4 separate regions of the Homo sapiens genome follow, and all the other regions are linked to region 4. The links are contacts of gene promoters, found by promoter capture Hi-C in human tissues and cell types (Jung and others, 2019). All regions are on one chromosome and are shown on one strand. Each heading gives the region's core, a stretch centred on a gene start or on the middle of the fragment in contact. The rest is flanking DNA. Distances are from core to core; before and after follow the strand shown. Region 1 overlaps OTUD7A (OTU deubiquitinase 7A). Region 2 overlaps OTUD7A (OTU deubiquitinase 7A). Region 3 overlaps OTUD7A (OTU deubiquitinase 7A). Region 4 holds the start of OTUD7A (OTU deubiquitinase 7A).

Region 1 (3,147 bases), core at 625-3,124, 300 kb after region 4:
CTGGAAGAAGAAACAGAGTAAGCAAATACAGAAAGATAGGACAACAGGAATACAGTTTGAAGATCTGCAGGAGAAAATGAATATTTTCAGCTGTGTGTATTGCTATCCAAAATAAATTAGAATTCTGAACATATAGAATTAGATAAGGAGACTAGAAATTGGATAGTCAGCTAATATCTCCCATAGTCAAATATTTGGCTTTAAAACTTAGGATGTAAGTTGTAACTAGAATTAAGCTTATTCTCATAGAGATGGAATTAATCTTCAAAGGAGGGTATAAATTAAGAGAAAAGAAGAGCAAGAAGAAAAATTAGGGGAATCCATGTGTTTTAAGGGCAGGAAGAGGCAAAGGAAACAGTGAAGGGACCATAGAGTGTCCCAGGGTGCAGAAGAGGAAGTGTGAAAATATCCATGTTAGAATTAGGCTTCTACTGCCCTCCCATGGACTTTATGGCCTCAGTGTGTTTGGGAGATGGCATTAGTAACAGTTGAATGAGAAACTCACGGAGTATAGATAAGTCCGTGTATTTGAATCTCAGCTCCGTTGCTTACTAGCTGGCTTTTAACTCTGAGTGCTGGAAGTTAAACATAAAACAGAAACCTATAATTAATGAGAATAATGGTAACTACCATGTATTAGTGCTTTCCATAAAGGAAGAACTTTACAAACACTATCTCCTTTTCTCATTTAACCCTCATAAGAATTCTCATTAGATGGATTGTGTTATCCTAATTGTACAGGAAGGAATGCAAGGCCTTGGGTGATGAAATGATATATTCACCATCAGAGAATTAGTTAGAAGGTGGAACCAGGGCTCAAAACCAGGCCCTAGAACCTGTGTTCTTGACTGTTCTTCTGGGTTGCATTCCTTCATCAGGGACATGTAGCCTGTGGCTGCCCCAGTCTTCCAGCCTCAGGTTTCACCATGGGCCTCTGCGCCTTTCCTTCTCATCCTTACTTGATGTGACATCTGTTGGGGTTCCCAGTAACTTAAAATGGAAAAGATGAGAAGAGAGCTTATTTTTATTTGCTCCTTAAAATTAAGGCTAAGTTTTTAATTCTTTGATTTCTTTTTAAAATTTTTTAATTTTTAATTGTTATGGATACATAATAGTTGTATGTATTGATATATACATACATCAATATGTATATTGATGGGGCAGATGTGATATTTTGATACCAGCCTACAATGTATAATGATCAAATCTGGCTAATTGGGATATCCATCACCTCAAACATGCATCATTTCTTTTGTGTTGGGAACATTCCAAATCTACATTTCTAGTTATTTTGAAATATACATTAAGTTATTGTTAACTATAGTTGCCCAATCGTGCTATAGGATGATGCCTAACTGAATCGGGTGTAGTGTGTGATACTCCTTCCTGCCGTTACAAGCCCACTGACTCTCAGAGTCGGGAATCAGAGTGCCCACGCTGCCTCCAACTCCCCAGTGTAGCTGTGCCTAGTGCTGCGAAGTGCCAGTCCAGCACCCCGTGTCGGGGTGGGAGCCCTGCTGAGTGCGTACCCACGCTGGGCACACCTGCCCAGCCTGGCATCACACCTGGTGCAGGGCCTGAGCTCAGAAGCCTATCTCCCACCAAAGCTCACTAACAAGAGAATCCCTCCCAAGCTTCTGCTTCGCTCATATTAAGCTTAAAATAAAAAGTAAAACTCTGAGCAAAAGCCCAAAGAAACTTTGAGAATTATTTCAATTCATTTTTCTTTAATTGATGCTTTGTTCCCCTCAGAGAGTAAGCTCTACAACTTGATTTTCAAAGGGGGATGTGATGATCAGGGATGCAGTGTTTAGATGTGTGTGTGTGTGTGTGTGTGTGTGTGTGTGTGTGTGTGTGTGTATGAACCTAAAGGCTCTGAGACTGTATATAGTCACATATTTTAGATGGACGTCACTTATGGGTGTGAAATTCTGCTTTTAGAGTCATGCAGAGGGCCATTTTTCCCCTTTGAAAAACAAGAACTACTGGTAAAAATTCATTAGTTTATGTCCTAATGGGAAACCCTTCTTGTCACAGTTCTTCTCTATGATGAGACCGTTATTCATGCGTTCGTATTGTCACCTCTTGTCATTTCTTGTCCACAGGCAAAAACTGGGACCTGACAGCCGCTCTGAGCGACTATGAGCAGCTCCGCCAGGTGCACACAGCCAATCTGCCACATGTGTTCAATGAAGGGCGGGGTCCCAAGCAGCCAGAGCGAGAGCCACAGCCCGGGCACAAGGTGGAGCGACCCTGCCTGCAGAGGCAGGACGACATTGCCCAAGGTACCGCTGAGGGACTGAGCCTAGGCACAGCCGCCCAGGCCAGTGCACCGCAGCTTGCAGGCGGGTTGCGTGGTACAAAGAATGGTGGGGTCATCACCTCCCGGATGCAGACATATTGGCCTCTCAGTGCCTTCTTTCTCACACTATGCCGAAATGTCCTTTGTTGCTTCTATCCATGGTTCCAACCTCTACCTCAGAAAAGCAGAAAAATGAGTCTGATTTCCTAGGACCCCAAAAGCCCAATAAGTGAGTAAAAGCCAGCATTCCTCCTGGAGTCTTGGTTTTTTCAGACCAAACATCTCTAGTTCTTTCACATATTTCCAAAGTAACACAGTCTCCAAGTCTGTTCAGCATCACATTTCTTGTCCCATGCGCTCCATCTTCTCTATCCTTTTTCTTCATTATGAAAGTAAGATATGCTTATTATAACAAAGGAAACAATACAGAGATATATGAGGAAAACTTAAGAGCATTCGCCTCCACACCTCCCAGATCTCACCAGTGTAATGACGGCTGATAACATTCTGGTGGTCTCCTCCTGCTCCTCTTGCTATATTGTTCAAAATCAAACACATCAGAGTCAAATGCACAGCACACTGCAAAGTGCTTGTTTCACTGAGCAGGAGATGATGAACATAATCTCTCAATAGCTACATTTTATTCTATAATGTGTTAATTTTTAGATCACTGCTGTATTCATGGTGATTCTGTTTTTGCTTGGGTTTTTGTCGTTGTTATTATTTGTTAATTGCCACTGAAAGCAATGCTGAAAGAAACATCTTTATACCTCTAATCTTACATACTGGTGCTTTTGTTTCTATGGGTTTGCATTCCCAGAATGGATTTGCTGTGCCAACACATG
Region 2 (3,178 bases), core at 300-2,799, 280 kb after region 4:
AGACTCCTCTGTATTGTTGTATGGAATTAAATTGCTTTTTCATTGCCACATAGCATTCCATTGTTTGAATAAACCAAATGTATTTGTTCATTCTACTTTTGATGAACATTTGACTTGTTTCTCTTTTGTGCTGTTATGAACAGGGCTGCTGTATGCATCTTTAGTGGCTCTATGTGCATATGGCAGATGTACGGGCATTTCTGTAGGGATTATACCAACAAGTGGGATTGCTGGATGCCAGGACACAGGGTATTTTAGATAAAAAGGTCAGGGAGAGCCTTTCTGATGAGGTGATAGCTCAGGAGAGACCACAATGAAGTGAGGGAGAAAGAGTGCAGATATTTTGAGAATGCATAATCCAAGCAGAAGGAACAGTGAGCGTTAGGGCCCTATGGCAGAAAGCCCTGGCCCAGGTCAGAGTGGCTGGAGCCCAAAGAGGGACAGCAGGCGAAGTCACTTGGTGCCCGGGGCCAGATTGCCAAGGGCCTGGAGGCCATGGGGAAGACTCCGAAGTTATTTGGAAAGTGATTGAAAGTCCCTGGGGTTTCAAAGGAGAGGAACATGATAAGATTTACATTTTCTTTTTTTTTTTTTTTGAAATGGAGTCTCAGTCTGTTTCCCAGGCTGGAGTGCAGTGGCACAATCTCAGCTCACTGCAACCTCTCCCCCTGGGTTCAAGCAATTCTCCTGCCTCAGCCTCCCGAGTAGCTGGGATTACAGACGCCTGCCACCACACCTGGCTAATTTTTGTATTTTTTTTTTAGTAGAGACGGGGTTTCACCATCTTGGCCAGGCTGGTCTTGAACTCCTGACCTCGTGATCCACCTGCCTCAGCCTCCCAGAGTGCTGGGATTACAGGCGTGAGCCACCGCGCCCGGCCAAGATTTACATTTTCAAAGGGCCACTCTGGCTGTCCTGTGGAGAACAGGTGACAGGGCACACTGGGGTGGAAGTAAGGAGAGGAACCAGAAGCCTCTGGCAATAATCCAAGCAAGAGATGCAGCCAACCTAGGGTGGCAATGGTAGAGATTTTGATTATGATTAGATCAAGAATGCATATTTTAAGGTGAAGCTGCAAGGACTTGCTGATGTCGGGTGTGAGGGTAAGAACAGAGTCAAGCATGATGCATGGATCTTTGGCTTAGGCTGTGTTAGGCTTGGGATGCTCTTAGATAGCCGAGCAGAGGTGTTGAGTCAGGAGCTGGATGTGTGAGTCAAGAGTTAGCCTGAGGACAAAACTCCAGGAGTCATCAGTATTTAGATGGCACTCACAGCGAGCAGCCCTGGCGGGCAATGTGGGTGGAGAAGAGCAGTGGTCCTGGGGCTGGAGCCCTTCAGCAAGCAGAGGCCAGGAGGAGGAGGAGGACCCAGCAGGGGAGACCCAGCTGAGCAGTAGTGGAGAGGGGGCAAGCCAAGGGAATGTGGCATCCCAGATGCCAAGAAGAACATGGCTAAGGGAGTGGCTAGCTCTCAGTGTTCCTGGGGTTGGCAAAGTGCAGGCCATCAGTGCTAGGGACATGGGTGGTGTAAGGGGAGTGGTGGGAGTCGGGGAATGAGAGGAAAATGAGGAGAGTGGGCCAATCGTGTTGTTTTTAACTTTCAGACTCTTCAGACTTACACTGCCCCTTAGAGATGAATCTCAACCATCTCTCCTTAACATTGCCAAAACTGGGACTCAAAGAGGAGGCAGAAGTTGCCCAAAGTCACAAGGCAAGCTCACAGCAGGGCTGTGGCCAAAATCTGGCCCCTGACACTCCCCGCTCTTCTGACTCCCACCCCTGAGTGAATGCCTGTGGTACCCACAGCCCTGGGGGGCTGCTGTGCAGAAAACCCTACCCTCAGTCCTTCTAGGACTTGCTATCTAACACACCATAGCCATGTTGTAAATTGATAGGTATGTGAGCTATTCACACTGTATGTATGGAATTTAGACTTTCATTTAAATTCAGGGTAAATTCATTTAAAGAAATTGACTATAAAAGCTGAGGCTAAGCCTCCCACCCACCACATCTGCGCTGTCTGCAGAGTCTTTATGTTCTGCCTGCATTTCCCTTCTTTGGTCATTCTATCCTGGAGGAAAGAAACCAGATAAATGGATTCACTCCTAGAGTAATAGGAAGGGTTAATAGTAATCGTAACTGGCAGGAGCCTTTCTCCATAGGGTGAACCAGCGTAGCCTCACCTTCAGAATTCCTGCTGAGGGACCATCCTGACCCTACCTGCCTTTCTTCTATTTTAATGTATACATTTATATTCACATGCATATGTCATTTTGCATGAATGGTATCATAACATATATATCATTTGTTTCTAGAAAAAGTCTTCTTTGTTGCTTGGCTCATCCCAATCCCTCCTTCCTCTCTCTATTGATGTCATTACAACTCCCGGAAACCCATGTGAGCAAGCTAGTATGTGTTCTTCCATATTTTTCTCCAAGCTCAAATAGTGGTCTGTAGACACCTATGTACATATACATCTTTATGTATACACATATATGTATACACATATGAATACAGCCGGGGCTCTTTCTGGAGCACATAAGAATCTGGAGGTTGCAAGTGAGAAGGATTTTCAGACCACCACTTAGAGGCTTGCACCCCAGCTGGAAGGGTAGAGGAGTGAAGGGCAGGGAAGCCGCAGATAGAAACACATAACTCAAAGGTCAAGCTCTCAACCCTGGGGATGCCGGGTGGGGACGCACTGTGCTGTCACAGCCTACTGCCCCAGAGCACCGAAGCAGCTCACCTGTAGGTATTCTCCTGGGTGCAGCATGACTCACAGGCAGAGCCACTGTCACCATCTGGGCTGCTGAGGATGAGATTCCCCAGAGCTGGGCCAGAAGCTGTCTGTTTCTGCTCGCAGCTAACCTCAGTATTCGAAGACTTCTCCTGCTGCCTTCCACGCCTCGCATGAATGTTTGTCATTTGAGAACCTAGAGCTTGTCTGGAAAGCAGTTCTGGGAAGTGCCATTCCAGGCTGTTCCCAAATTACGCAGAGGAGAATGAAGGGAGGGGAAAGGTTGAGCACAGGCTCTCCAGCACCATCCACCCCTTTTGTCAAATCCTCACCCATCCATATCCTTTGGCCCATATCTAACCAGCAAGCAACAGCAGTAACATCGTGCCCTGCTAATTTTACTCTTCTTCATTCCACTGGAAATGTGCATGCATCTCACCAA
Region 3 (3,126 bases), core at 555-3,054, 320 kb after region 4:
GGTACAAAGGGTAAATGCCTCTTCCTAATAGCTTAGTGCTTAGAATCTTTATGAATAAACTATTTATATGCAATATTATTTTACTGAATACATGAGAGATTGAAATACAGATGTCAAAAAATTATTTAGTAAAAAAAAAATCCATTTGTTTAAGGGACAGTTCTAGCTGTGCTTGGCAGGAAACATTATTTCTGTCATAAGACTTTGGGTGGAGGACTTCCTTTTCCCTTGGACAGAACATGAACCCAGGGCTCAGGTGGTTCTGAAAACTGGCAAACAGTGGCCTTCACTCAGTTAACATTGCCCACCATCCAGCTGTCCATCCTGGGGCCTGATTCCACTCTCCTGGGGCCCTGCGTGGTATCTGCCTGGCCTCCCGAGCCACATAGGCAGCCCCGTCTATTTTTGAGGCCTCTGTGTCAAGTGGGGTGCCAGTCTGAACTCCCATAAAACCCACAGATCTGGGAGACTGGTCTTCCCCAAGTCTTCAAACCCTGGAAAACACAACCCACTCCCACCTCATGACAGTCTCAGGGCAACAGAAGGGCCGGATCATCTGGGCCTAAAACCAGCTGACCTCCTGAGAGGAAGGGAAACACCTTTCGTTCTTTAATGACTAGCCTGCCATTGAGAAGGCAAGAAACCACTCCTTTTGCCATCAGCTGATCCTGCTGCATTTACACAGGAGATGGCTCGGAGACCGGGGTCTCTGGGTTGGGAAGTATCATCTGCTGCCTGTGGCAGCAGCTAACCACCATGTGGGTGAGATGGTGTGGTTCTTCAGTGTGTCTGGGGGCAGAGGGCAGAGGCATTTTTGTGTAATGCAGGAGTCACTGCATACATGGGAGATGGAAACGCATGTTGAAAAATCTCTAGGCACACCTTTGAGTTGTGCTCCAGGGGAGGATAATTGGATTGAGGGGAATCTGCCAGAGAATGGTAAGTTACAGAGGAGGCTTGTGGGCTTCTGAGTCAGCCCGACCCTGGCTTGAGGCCCGGATTGGCAGGGGGAGCTTGGCCACGTCACTTGGCCGGCTGGAGCCTCACTTCCTTCCCTCTGAAAGTCAGAGATGTGTAACGGCGGCCAAATGGAGACAGATTGACCCAGTGTCAGCCTGTGTTGAATGCCCACGAAATGCCCCATCCAGGTCTGGGGCTACCTCCACACTCCAGGCAGATGAAACCCCTGCCCTCAGGGAGGTGAAATTCCAGTGGAAGAAAGCCGATGAACAAGGGGAGCATGAAAATGAAGTGGGGCCTCAGAGGCTACTCTGGGGAGGTTAGGAAGGAGAGGGAATCCCGGGATGCCGCTGGAGGGCAGGGAGGGAGGCAGCAACAGACACCTGCGGGCCTGGCTTTCCTGGCAGAGGGAGTCTAACATCAAAGTCTTGGCATATTTAAGGAAGCCAGTGTCACCTGAGCTGGTGGAGCGAGGGTGAGAGGATTTGGAAAGGAGGGCAGGAGAATGGGAGCCGGGCGCTAGGGAGCCTCGTCCTTTAGGCTTCACTGAAGGTAGATAAGCAGCCCCTGGAGGGTTTTGAGCCGGGGGCTGACGCGTCTTGATTCACATCTGACAGATTCTGGCTGCTGGAGAATGGACTATGGGGTGGTAAGAGAAGAAGCTGGAAGAGCAGGGAGAGGCAGTTGCTCCAGACCAGGGCAGAGAGAGACGGCTGGCAGGGTCGTGGGGGTGGTAGTGCAGGTGAGGGGCAGTAGAGAGACACGGCTATGGGGTACGTTTTGAAGGCAGACCTACAGGCCTTGATGATGGAGGGCTGGGGCTCTGGCAGGCAGGGAAGAGTCCAGCATGGCCCTAAGAATGTTACCCTGAATATGGGGGTAGATAATGTTGCCTGAGGAGATGCAGACCCCTGGAGGAAGGGCAAGAAGAAGAGGCCAGCACTGTCAGGCAAAGCCCGAGACTGTAGTGAGACTTGTAAAGTTGCTGCCCAGATGAACATGAGGGTCTGGAGTCAGAGAGAGCCCTGCGTTGGGGATGCAGATGTGGAGTTAGTGCCCTAAAGTGAAACCCGTGGGATCCCGGAGTGAGCTCCTCGTAGGACCCTCCCACCATGCCCCCAACCTGGCTCCATGCAGTGGTGAGCATGAGTTGGACACACTTGTCTGGAGCATGGACAGAAAACAAGCTTTCCAAAGACTCAGGCTGGGGCCCTACAGTATTGAGGGCTGAGGAACAGAAGAAGGAGCCAGCAGAAGAGACTGGGAATGTGCGGGCCTGGGAATCAGGGCGAACCAGCGGTGGATAGTGACCCTGACGCCCAGGGTGGAAGGTGTTTCAAGAAGGGAGCAATCAGTGGTGCCAAATATGCCAGTAAGTCAGTGTGCACTAGAAACTGACCGCTGGGTTTGACTGTGAGGGCAAGGTTCTCGGGAAGCCATGCTGCACTGTGCTTGATACAGAGAAAGGTCAGGAAGTGGCTTCCATTCCCCTTCTCCTTATAGCTCTCACCATCGGCTGCTGTGAGTCATCTCTTTCCTCCAGCTACTTTTACACTCCCTTGCCTTCCATCTCGTGAGGCTTCCATTGGCCTCCTAGCTACCTGGGACCATTCCTTGCTTCCAAAGGCAGCTCCTCCCATGGCCAGTTGCCAAGTTTGCCTTCCCATCCTTGCTGTGCTTTGGAGCTTCCTCCACCCATCAGTCAGGCAGAGTCGCGGCTGCGACTCTGGGCAAGCCTGGAAATACCACGTTCCTTTGTGGGCCAGGTGCAGCGTTGGGCAACCCTGGGCATAGGGCCTGGGCCAGAGTGTGGGAGAGACAGAGGCCAGGGTTCACATCTCCTCAGCGTAGTGGTCACAGTGTGGTTCCTGTGCAGCCCCCTGAGGGGGCGTCAGGCTCTCCTCTGTGACGTCGTGATGAAGCAGCCCACCTTGTGGGGCTGTTGTGAAGATGAACTGAGGTCGTGTGTGCACAGGGCTGGATGCATACTCAGCATCAAGTAAATGGCCTCCTCTACTAATTTTTTATTTTCATAGAGTGGTATTTCCTATTTTTCTTTCTTCACACTTTTTGCTATAAAGAATTTAAATTGTGACCAAATACTAAGTTATCTTCTCCAGCATTACAATTATTCATTAGTAAACATTGAGCACCTGTGGTGTCTCA
Region 4 (3,068 bases), core at 219-2,718:
AAAGATAGCCAATATCAAGTGCTGGTGAGGATGAAGGAAAGGGATTCATATTTGCTGACAGTTATAAAAATGCTATAGCCACTCTAGAAAACTGTTTGGTTCTTATAAAGTTAAACAAATTTACCATAAGATCTAGCAATTGCACTCCTAGATATTTAGTCAACTAATTTAAAAAATTTGTCCGTACAAAACGCTGCATGCAAATGTTTATAGAATGTTTATTCACAGTCGCCAAAAACTGGAAACCACGCAAATATTCTCCAGTGGGTGACTAAACAAAATGTGGTACAAATAATGAGACTCCCCTCAACAATAAAAAGGACTATTACTATACACAATAACATGGATGAATCTCCAAGGTATAATGATGAGGGAATAAAGTCAGTTTCAAAATGTTACATATTGCGTAATTCCATGTATACGACACACTCACAAAGACAAAACCGTAGCAATGGAGAACCTATCAGTGGTTACCAAAAGTTAGGGTTGGCGGGGGCGCTGTTATAAAAGGGCAGAACTAGGGAGCTCTTTATTGCGCTAGTGGTTACATGAATCCAAACAAGGGTTCAAGATCACAGGATTATATATCAAATAACCAATTTTACTGAATATCAATTTTAAAAGTCAAATAAATTATTAAACACTATTAAACATATACAATGTTTAAAGTCAAGCAAAAAGTCCTAAACTAAAAGTAAAATAATGATTGTTTAGAAGTACACCAGGATGGTATGGGTCATCTGCAATATAACGTCCTGTTTGGGATAAGGAAGCGTGACTACATCTACAGGGTGACGTGAGAAGGGCCCAGAGCAGCGAGCAGGTCTTGCCATCAGGGAGGGGAACCATCTGAAGGGGTGGCGTGAAAAAGTCTTTAGAGGAAGGCAAAAAATGGGAAAAGGTCAGAGAACCTTTTTGGGAGGTAAAAGGACCAGCTTTGGATTAGGCGTGATGCACAGGCCCCAGCGCAGGGCGTAGAAACTGCAGCCTGGACAGCCTGGGTGGGAGAAAGTTTGGGATGTTTAGGAAGGAAGGGTGCGCCAGCCAGGGGGAAGAAACGAGACAGGTGGCCGCAGATGGCGCGAGTCAGGCAGCAGGAAAAGGCAGGCTGTTTAAGCAGCCTTTTCCTGCAGTCCAGGCGGAGAGCGCAGAAGGAGCACCCCGAGGGGCAAGCATGGGAGAGCCGGAGCGGGCTCGCGGGCGCGCGGGCGCTGTACGTCCCCTCCTCGGCTCGCGGCCGCGAGCACGCGCTCTCCGTGCCCGGCCCCGGAGGGGCGGGGGCGGGGCACAGGCGCGGCGCGCGCACGTCCGCGCGGGGCGGGGGCGGGGCGCGAACGCGACCGGTGACGTCAGAGGAGGGCGCGCGCCCGGAGGCAGCAGGCGGAGCCGGGAGGCGGGCGTTGTGCGCGGCCGCGGGCGGAGCGGAGGGGCGCGAGGGGCGGAGCGGAGCGCGGGAGGAGGCGGGGGAGGAGAGGCCACCGGGACCGCGAGCGGCAGCTGGGGAGGGGGCCGCGGAGCCCGAGCGGGAGCAAAACAGCTGATCTGGTTTTCCTTTAAAGCGAGAGAAAATGGAAGTCGGGTAGCGGCGACTGCGGCGCTGCGGGCTGGCGGAGCGGAGCGGCGCGGCGCGGCAGGTAAGACGGCGCTGGCCGCGGTGCTGCCGGCGGGCGGCGGGGCCGGGCCCGCGGACCAGGCAGGTGCGCTCTCCGGGCGCGGGGCCGGCGCCGTCTCCTTCCCGAGCTCCGTGGCGAGGCAGGTGGGCGTTGAGGCCGGGCGACCGCGGGGCCGGGGCGCGGGGACGCGGGGGGCGCGGGCCCCGGCTGGGCTCGCCGGCGCGTCTGCATTGCGGGCTCCGCTCCGGACCCCGCGGGCTCCCGGGCCACCGGCTCCGGCCCGGCGTGGCGCGCCTCTCTCGGGCAGGGCGCGGCGCTACCGCTGGGTCGGGGCTGCTGCCTCCGCTCAGCCCTTTGGCTGTCCGCACTGGAACGTGATGCCAGGCGTGGGGCGACCGACCCCTCGGTCCGTGCGCGCGCGTCGGGGGTCCCGCGGCTCTTGCAGACGGCCGGGCAGGGCCCGGCCCCGAGCCGCGCGCGAGGCCGCTCGCCGGGCACCGGAGCTGTGACTGCGTGGGTCCCCGCGGCCCGGCGCACCGCCGTCCCGCTCGCTCTGCTGGGTCTCGCTGGACAGCAGGCAAACCATTAAGGCAATTTGGCTGTGAACCCAGAGGCCTTCCCTAGTATCTCCTCACTGGAGGGGAAAAAATTGCATCTGCGGTGCTTTAAGTGCTCCTTTAAATTTGGGAGATGTCAGTGATGTCATCATTAACTAAAACTTTCCTTCATTGGACACAACCGCTCAAGTGTACCCTCCTCCCTCCCGGTGAAGCTATTGCAGCCCTTTGAGAATCTCTGTAATAAAATGGATTTGCCTCTGCTCTGTAAACTCAGCTACCTCACACAAGTGCAAATGACTTTTATTTCTGTCTATTGGCTTGAGAATGTATAGATTTAAGAGTAGCTGAAGGGAAACTTGTGAGACCCCGATCAGGGAAACGCTTCATCCACAGCACAAGGATCCAGGGGAAAGTCATGTATGACATGCACATGGTTACCGCCAGGTGATACCTTTGTAAATGGAAGTGGGCTGTAAGAGGAACAATTTTTAAAAATATGATGAGGCAGATAATGTGTCCAGGAAAAGGTTGACAGCGGGGCCTAAATCTTTACAGGTCTTAATTGCTTCAGGAAAATCTGCAGGTGTCCTTCACCATCCTCCTCCTCCTCCTCCAGGGTGTGCCCGGAGAAGCCTGCCCTGGGCGAAGGCGGGGAGGCAGGTTCACTAGGGTCCTCCCAGCAGCCGTGTGTCCCACCAGCTTCAAAGGCCTCTTCAAGACCCAAAGAGGGTTCACGAGAACAGAGGTAGATCTGCACGGCACACTCAGTTCTGGATAAACATTCCCCACTAAATGGGATCAACACTCCATTATTTTATTGTGAGTGTGCCATTAGTACCAATTCTTATGGGAACAAAACTAAGCAAGTTCCCAAGGCAATCTGAGTATCTACTCA

What was found. Contacts are between HindIII fragments. The study calls those that stand out against the background at their distance.
Region 1: a fragment that was not itself captured here is called in contact with the fragment with the promoter of OTUD7A in region 4 in 4 of the 25 tissues and cell types used here (H1 embryonic stem cells, IMR-90 fibroblasts, dorsolateral prefrontal cortex and 1 more).
Region 2: a fragment that was not itself captured here is called in contact with the fragment with the promoter of OTUD7A in region 4 in 2 of the 25 tissues and cell types used here (IMR-90 fibroblasts and dorsolateral prefrontal cortex).
Region 3: a fragment that was not itself captured here is called in contact with the fragment with the promoter of OTUD7A in region 4 in 3 of the 25 tissues and cell types used here (IMR-90 fibroblasts, dorsolateral prefrontal cortex and lymphoblastoid cells).

The regions. Positions count from the first base shown.
Region 1 is chr15:31,569,156-31,572,302 of GRCh38, reverse strand. OTUD7A (OTU deubiquitinase 7A) reads left to right here. Exons shown (of 13, transcript NM_001382637.1): 4 at 2,106-2,285. Among named protein-coding and RNA genes, the nearest start is that of KLF13, 240 kb to the right of the region's middle. The HindIII fragment of the contact is 6,458 bases long and covers 1-3,147 here.
Region 2 is chr15:31,585,058-31,588,235 of GRCh38, reverse strand. The region is part of intron 3 of OTUD7A (OTU deubiquitinase 7A); the gene reads left to right. Among named protein-coding and RNA genes, the nearest start is that of KLF13, 260 kb to the right of the region's middle. The HindIII fragment of the contact is 6,043 bases long and covers 1-3,178 here.
Region 3 is chr15:31,552,339-31,555,464 of GRCh38, reverse strand. The region is part of intron 5 of OTUD7A (OTU deubiquitinase 7A); the gene reads left to right. Among named protein-coding and RNA genes, the nearest start is that of KLF13, 230 kb to the right of the region's middle. RefSeq lists an enhancer at 574-1,157. The HindIII fragment of the contact is 6,972 bases long and covers 1-3,126 here.
Region 4 is chr15:31,869,073-31,872,140 of GRCh38, reverse strand. It overlaps OTUD7A (OTU deubiquitinase 7A), which reads left to right and starts at 1,468. Exons shown (of 13, transcript NM_001382637.1): 1 at 1,468-1,634. RefSeq lists a silencer at 1,436-1,505. The HindIII fragment of the contact is 13,679 bases long and covers 1-3,068 here.